Regions from separate parts of the Homo sapiens genome. Here region 2 is linked to region 1. Evidence: promoter capture Hi-C in 16 types of primary human blood cells and fetal thymus (Javierre and others, 2016). All regions are on one chromosome and are shown on one strand. The core of a region is centred on a gene start or on the middle of the fragment in contact, and the rest is flanking DNA. Distances in the headings are between cores, read along the strand shown. Region 1 holds the start of DACH2 (dachshund family transcription factor 2). Region 2 has its middle 4.1 kb from the start of MIR1321.

Evidence for each region. Contacts are between HindIII fragments. The CHiCAGO score rates a contact against its expected background, and 5 or more counts as called.
Region 2: a fragment that was not itself captured here is called in contact with the fragment with the promoter of DACH2 in region 1 in 2 of 17 cell types (total B cells and activated CD4 T cells); the score reaches 6.2 in total B cells.

The regions. Positions count from the first base shown.
Region 1 is chrX:86,146,007-86,149,977 of GRCh38, reverse strand. It overlaps DACH2 (dachshund family transcription factor 2), which reads right to left and starts at 1,527. Exons shown (of 12, transcript NM_053281.3): 1 at 870-1,527. The coding sequence starts at 1,357. The HindIII fragment of the contact is 4,799 bases long and covers 716-3,971 here.
Region 2 is chrX:85,837,703-85,842,006 of GRCh38, reverse strand. No RefSeq gene overlaps it. Among named protein-coding and RNA genes, the nearest start is that of MIR1321, 4.1 kb to the right of the region's middle. The HindIII fragment of the contact is 206 bases long and covers 1,827-2,032 here.

The DNA of each region.
Region 1 (3,971 bases), core at 278-2,777:
CCTGTCTTTAAGGGAATGGGATCCTTCCAACTGTTCGCCTGGAAGAGCTGAGAGCATCCTCTCTAGAAATCTGCCAACTTGTACACCAACCTCCAATCCAGTCCCAGCCACAGTGGTTCATGCCCCACATTGCCCTCTGCAGATAACCCAAAACGGACGATCCCAGGAAAGTGATATTTGTCGTCGTCCTTTTGTAAAAATAGTATCCATCGACTTTCCTGTATCGTGTACTGGGGAGCTTTGCGCAGCAAGCATGAGCATACGTTCTCACGCGCACTTGCACACATACACACCAACACCACCACAAACAACAACACCACACACCCCACACATTCTCACAACAAACACACGGGATGGGGATCGAATCACCCTCTGGGATGGATTCTAGACTTCCCACCCCCTGCATGCCCCAAATGCTGTGTTCTGGCTTGCCAGCTTAGGAGCCCAGTTTACAGCTCAGCCAGCCCCCAGAGAAAGCCCTTGGTATCCGTGTTCAGAAGAAAACCTATCCGACCCGTGCGGCCACAAAAGAGCAGGAAAGAAAACCAAATAGAGAAATTAACAAATAACCACGAACAGCCAAAAGCCATGCAAGATATGGGCAAAAGGCTGGAAAGTTTCAATAGAGGACTGCAAACTCAAGTTTGCGGGACTTTTTTAGACCGAAGCCCTTGCACTGAGCGTGGACTAGAAGGCACCAGCATTAATGAAAGCTTCTAGTCCTCTTTCCCCACCGATTTACAGCGTGAAGAATAGAGGCAAACTAGTTAAGACTCACTCTACAAACAAAGTTGGATGAGGGTGGTGAGGCATGCAGAAGAGGCCAAAGGGGTAAGAGAAGTGGGAGAGCCAAGAAACGAGTGTCTCACCTGGCATTGGTGCAATCGGTGAACAAAGTTTCGAAGTCTTTCCTGGTGATGAGTTTGCAGCGGTTTACCCCGGGCTGGATGGCCCCCAGCCCGCGGAGGATCCGGACCTGCTCAACAGTACACACCACGGGGGATATATCCAGTCTCTTCAGCTTGGTGTACACAGTGTGCAAGCCTCCCACCAGGTGCTTGAGAAAAAGATCAAAGACTTGCGGCAGGCAGATCAGTTCCTGGCCGTCCATCAGGAACGAAGCCACCTTCATCCCGTGCATGTCGACCATGCGGCACTCGTTGGTGTTGGTGTTGCCCCTGCCGCCGCCTCCGGCACTGTTGCTGTGGTTATTAACCACGAAACTATTGATCATATTAGGAGTAAGACGAGGGGGCTCTCTGGGAGTCGAGTACAGGGGTTCGGCCCGGAATAAGCCCCCCGGGACGCCGGCGCCGCTGGAAGTTGCAGAGATCACTGGAGATGCGGAGACAGCCATGGTCACTCTGTCTCTATCGTGGGTCCTCCGGCCCTCGCTTTCTCGCCCTGACTCCTCTAGATCCCCTCGCACTCACTCCCTCACTCTCGCTCTCTCTGGCGCGCTCTCGCTGGCTCCGAACTGTTCGCAAGTCTTCAGCAGCCGGCTCACGCTCAAGCTCAACAAACAGTGAGCAGCCCCGACCCGCTGCGGCCCCAGACCCCACCCCCACCACACCCCCTCCGGAGACTGGCAGCGTCCCACAGCCAATGGGCCCCAGCCCTTCTGCGCCCGAGCGCTCCGAATGGCTGCCGCTGGTGAGGAGGTGGAGACTCCCTGGCCGGCGTCCGACTACCTGAGTGGGTCCAGGCTCGACCAAGAACAGAGATCCAGTCCGAGAAGGGGGCGGTGTGGTGCCTCTGCTTCTTGCCTCTCTGCCAGACGAGAGAACTCCCAGATGTCACGCAGAGTTCTCAAAGTGGCCTATGCTGTGAACCCATCCGCTCCGCGCTCCGCTGGTGTCGGGGTGGAAACGCAAAGCGCGACTCCTGAACGTGCCTCCCCATGCCCCTTCCGCCACCTTACACCGGGTTAGATCGTGGAAAGTGAGGTGGCAGCTCCAATTCCACTTGCGCATCTCTCCCAAACTCTGCGGGGGCTAATAGATGGCTTCGCCTAGCTTCCGGGAGAAAGACGCTAGCGAGTTCAGAAGTAAACAGCTCAGCCCTTTAGCCCACCTAAGTGCGCTTGGTGTAAATTTTCCCCTACCCAGCGCGCAGAGGAACAAGCGTCCGAGATCATACTCAGATCAGAGTTCTGGTTGCTAACTCGCACTGACATTCAGGAAGCGTAGTGAGCCTGTGAACACTTTGGGAAACAGAGAGACTTGCTCTGTGGGTGGCAGATGGACACCTCATTTTATGGCACTTCCGCCACTGTCCTGGAAGAGACTTGTCTGTGTCCCCGTCCCTTAGTGTCGAGATTGCCCTGGCCCTACTCCCCGCTAAAATTGATAGGAAATGTTTGTTTAGGACTCAAAACAGTCATCACGGAATATGAGGAAAGGGCGAGGGTTTGCATTCTTGAACGTGCATTTTCCTTCCTCTTCCATTGGCTTTGAAGGTCCAGTGATTGGAGCTCCAGTCCTAAACAAGATTCCACTTCCCCCACTCATCAAGCGTCCCAAACGTACTAAGAGCTTATAGAACAAAATGTCTAAGCAGGGTACATTCCAGGGAAAAGGAATGGTCTTTTCCACACAGCATATGGTGGTTAGATCGCCTTAGCAAAGTTGTTTTTGTTTGTTTTGAGACAGATTCTCACTCTGTCGCCCAGACTAGAGTGCAGTGGCACAGTCTCGGCTCACTGCAGCCTCCGCCTCCGGGGATCAAGCGATTCTCCTGCCTCGGCCGAGTAACTGGGACAACAGGTGCGCGCCACCATGCCTGGCTAATTTATGTATACATATACATATATATATACACACATATACATATATATACATATATATACACACATATACATACTTTTTTTTTTTTTTGTAGAGACAGGGTTTCACCATATTGGCCAGGCTGGTCTCGAACTCCTGACCTCGTGATCCGCCCTCCTCGGCCTCCCAAAGTTCTGGGATTACAGGCGTGAGCCACCGCTCCTGGCCTAGCAAAGTTGTTTTAAGACTCCTTGTCAAGCTATTCATTCTCTAAAACCAAGATATTTCCTTTCCTGTGCTCCTCTTCTCTGGAGGCTGTTAGTTATTCATAAAGTGAAATCCAGGTTTCGTTTCTTTACAAAACGTTACCAACTACATGGCTTATGGTAACTTCTCTGATATTCTTCTAAAATATAAATAATGTTGGAAACTTACTGAATTTTATTCAGCCCTAGTTGTACTTAGCAGGATCAACGAGAAATGTGTGGGTTCTTTTTGCTCCCTTATTTAGTTACAGATACCCTAAATTGGATTTTTCTGCCTCTTTCTACAACATATTTTCTTCTTTTCTCATTTCATCAACCAGGTTTAAGAACTGCCCTTTGAATCTCTTCATACTGTTTCAATTTCAAATTGTACAGGGTTAAAATGCTAAGAAGTTGTGATGATCATTGCTTTCAAAATGCAGTGATATGACTCTAACATAATAGATTGGGATATAGGCAGCCACGAGACATTTTTAAAAGGCATCAAAATGTTTTTGCTACATCGATACTGTTGTGGGAAGAAAGTAATAAGGGGCAAAAAAAGGACAATTGAGAAGAAATAGCAAAGGCAGAAAACGCCTCAACCAAAAGTAGAAGTATCAAAAAAGAATAAAACAGCACTGACAGAAATGTTTGTATTTACCAGTTTTTAAAAAGAGAAATCCCAAATTGTATTCAACAGGTGTTTTGACTGAAATGGCTGTTAAACTATCTGTTGAAATAGCTTGCCTCTGATAACTTATTGTGATTGAAATTTCCAGGTGAATAAGTTTGGCTGTAAAGGATGTTTTATTTTCAAATGGCTCTAATTACGTTAAAAATCCTAAGGCCAAGCTACCCCTTGTATGTAGCTGTGCCCACATTATCAAGGCCTTTTTATTTGCAGAGCAATTTGGGGTTTTCAGCAATAAAACATTGCACAGATATTTTGATGTTTCAA
Region 2 (4,304 bases), core at 680-3,179, 310 kb after region 1:
CATTTCACCCATTGAATTCCTCAGCTCCAAGACTTCTGTTTGATTCTTTTTTATGATAGTTATCTGTGTTGAATTTCTCATTTAGATTATAAATCTTTTTTTTCTGATTTCTTTGTATTGTTTATCTGTGTTCTTTTGCATCTCACTGAGCTTCTCTAATATCATTTTGCATTTTTTCAGGCATTTTATGGATTTCTTTTTCAGTGGAATCTATTGCGGGAGAATTATGTTCTTTGGAGGTGTCATAGTTCCTTGTTTTTTCATGTTTCTTGTGTTCTTATGTTGATATTTGCATGTCTGATGTAGCAGTCACTTATTTTATGGATAGGATTTTGTAGGTAAAGACTGTTTCTTATAAATTTATCTATAGTTCTGGTTGGATTGGGTGATTTTCCATTGATTCTGGGTGCACGCTTTTCTGTAGTCTCTGTATGATTTATTTGACTGCAATCAGCATAAATGGTGTCTGTGAGTTCTTCAGTGGCTTAGGCTGAAGTTGTTAGTGGAGGATGTGGTAGGGCCTTACTGGAGACAGGGATGTCAGATGGGCTGATCCTTGGGCCCTAGTGGTGGCAGCAGTGGGCCAAACATGCCAGTCATTGGGCCCCCATGAAAGTGTGTGTGAGATCTGGTGGTAGTGGGTCAAGGCAGGTTGATCCTTGGGCCTCCAGGTATCTTGTTCATGTTCCAGCAGTGGAGTGGTAACAGTAAGTCAAGTGTGTCTTTGGGTCCCTGGATGGTGTGTAGCAATTGACAATGGTGGCAGTAGCTGTGGCAGGCCAGCTCTTGGCCCTTCATGTGGTATGCACAGACATCAGCAGTGGCAGCTGCAAACTGGGTGGGCCAATCCCCAGGTTACCAGGTGGTTTATGCAAGTAGGTGCTGGCAGTGGTGGTGGTAGCAGGACAGGTGGGCACATCCTCAGACCTCCAGGAAGAGTTTCTGGATACCACTGGCAGCAGGTGAGGCAATCCAATCCCCAGAACCCCCAAAGACATATATGGGCACTAGAGGAGGTGGTGCCAGGGAGAGCTAGCCTGTCCTCAGGCTCCTGATGGTGCACACGGATGCAGGCTGTGGCAGGTGTGGCTGGTTGATCTCCAGGCTCTCAGCTGGTGTGCATAGGCACCAGCAGGCTGGAATGGCTTGTCCTCAGGTTTCTGAAACATGTGGGTGGACACTGATGGCATTGAGCTAGTGGGTTGATCCCCAGGCCCCTTGTCCACATGCGTGGGCACTCATGGGTGTGATGCTGGGCTGTTAGCTGTAACTCTTAGCAAATCATTTCAATCTTTCTAGTTATCAGTTTCCTTGCCTGTTAAACAAGAATAATGATAGTACCTACTTCATAGGATGTTTGTAAGAGTCAATATGTCAAAATCCATGTGAAGCACTCAGCAAAGCACCTGACATGTAGAATAGAACTCAAGAAAAGATAGCATTACTGTTTGCATGATTAAGGACAGAGCCAGGATTAGGAGCCAGGTTTTCTAATTACCAGGCCACTCTTCTCTCCACCATGACTGTAACAGCAGATGTGCTGGAGAATTTTTAGTGAACTTGAACCGAGATGTTTAGTATAATCAGACTAGAGTCCTTCTCATTACTTGGTGTTAGTGGTTTTAGATACTTAAACCTGCAAGTTGAAAAGTGACATCTATAAGAGTACATTCAAAGAGGCAATGAAGTCTAAATATTCAGGTTTAATCCCAAGAGAAATGGCCCATCTCTTATCCCCAAGTGACACTTTATCAAACAAACTTTCCAAATACCTGAAATTTGGTCATGAGACACAGGAAATTTAGGAGGTGTGTGAAATTCAAGCTTTTATTGTGAGAAAAGCATCTGTTATGGATTCCATCACTATATTTATTAACAGGCTTTTTGCCCATATTCTAATAGTGATTAGTGCTATACAGGCTGAAATGGAAATACTATAAATCTCTGTGGCAAATGGGACTTGTCTTGAAAAAAAAAAAGATCCAAGCAGTTGCAGTGGCTACCAGCATGGGAGGTCTAATCAAAGGAAGCTTGTGTCAGAGCTACTTGACTGGTAATTCTCTTTGTGGTTTAAAAAAATTACTTGGATGTATAACAAAAATGTGCTGTGTATATGAATAGAGTTTTGTAAAAAGAGTCATTAACTTGCTTCTCTCTTCATGTTGCGGTCCAGATCCAAATAACATTTTCCAGGTATTCTCTAGAAGGGCCTCAACCTGTGCATGGAAGGTCCTCTGAAAATTTTCTCAGTTCCATTACAGTGATAGGCACTCTTTCCTTATTTCTCCTTCATCTGAATGATTAATGTTGATGTTACGTACACAAATGATAATGCTTTTATAGCAGTAACAATAATACCTTTAAAAAGCATTGAAAGAATTCAGATTTATGTATATGTATGGTATTTGGGAAAGTGCCTGGAATATAGTATGCACTATAAGTTATTGTTAAATAAATAAAATAGGCAATTAATGTCATGAAAAAAATCCACAGTGTATGGTTAAACAAAAAAGCAAGTTATGAAAGTAGCATGTATGTGGGATCCCACGTTGTGTAAAAGAGAGCTAGAGATATCTACGTGCATATATGTATGTGTGTGTACACAGAAGGGTAACAATAGTTAGCTTTGAATTGAGGGAATTTGTGAACAGTCTTTTTTCTTTCTACTTTTGAATTTTCTACATTTTTTGAAATATTCCTTTACCACCATTTATAATATAACTTCTTCCCAGATGTAAAACTGATGTTTGGTGTGTTCTTTCAGATATTTTTCTCCACTTATGCATGTGTATACAAACACACACACACACACACACACACACACACACACTGAGTATAAGGGTATAGGGTCTTTTTAAATGTTTTCTAAAAACATAAGTTGGCTCACATCATAGTTCTGTAATTGGCTTATTTCAACAACTATATCTTAGACATCATAAAATATAGCACATAAAAATGTTCGTCCCTCTTATTTATTGCTGCGTACCATTCCATGGTATGAAATCTATTTATCCAACAATTATTAATGAATATTTGGTTGTTTTCAGTTTTATTGTTCTTTTAAGTAATGATTCAACAAACATCTCATACTTATATCTCTGTTCACATGCATATCTCTGGTAGATAGAGTCTTAGTGGTTGAATTACTGGTTTAAAGGGTATGTACACTTTACATTTTGATAGACTGCCAAATGGTACTTTAAAAAAGCTGATTTCCACTCACTGATACTAGATATTATTACTTTTTAAATGTCTGCCAATCTAATGAGCTAAAAAATATGGTATCATATTGTTATACTATGCATTTCCCTCCTTATACATCGAAACATATGTTCAATGCCAATTTTCAGTTACCTCTTCTATGATTTCTCAGTTTATGCCCTTGCCACTATTATAACTTGCAAAAATTCTTTTTATATTTTCATATTAATACTTCATTACACATATTGCAAATCTTTTTTTCATTCTAGATTTTAACTTTTATGGTGTGATTCATTACCTAGAAATTTTAAATTTTGATATAGACAATTCACTTAATATTTTCTTTTATGGCTCTGGACTTTGCATCTTGTTTAGAAGAGTCTTTCTCAATTCATTAGTAGGAAAATATGTCCCACATGTTGCTAAAACACCTGTGATGGTTAATATTGAGTGTCAACTTGATTAGATTGAAGGATGCAGAGTATTATTTCTGGGTTTGTCTGTGAGAGTGTTGCCAAAGGAGAATAACATTTGAGTCAGTGGACTGGGAGAGGCAGACCCACCCTCAATCTGGGTGGGCACCATCTAATCAGCTGCCAGCATGGCTAGAATAAAGCAGGCAGAAGAAAGTGGAATGAGGAGACTTGCTGAGTCTTCTGGCCTTCATCTTTCTCCTGTGCTGGATGCTTCCTGCCCTCGAACATCAGACTCCAAGTTCTTCAGCTTTTGGGCTCTTGGACTTACACCAGTGATTTGTGGCTCTCAGGCCTTTGGCCACAGACCAAAGGCTGCACTATCGGCTTCCCTACTTTTGAGGTTTTGGGACTCCGACTGACTTCCTTGCTCCTCAACTTGCAGATGGCCTATTGTGGAACTGCACCTTGTGATCGTGTGAATCAATTTTCCTAATAAACTCCCCTTCATATACATATGCATATATGCTAATAGTTCTGTTGCTTTATAGAACCCTAATACAATACCTTTAAAAAAAAAAAAAAGAAAACTTTTAGCTCTTTAACTGACCTGAAATTTATTTGGGGGATTTATGTGAGATAGAAATCTAACATAAAATTTCATATATGAATATCCAATTTTCCTCATGC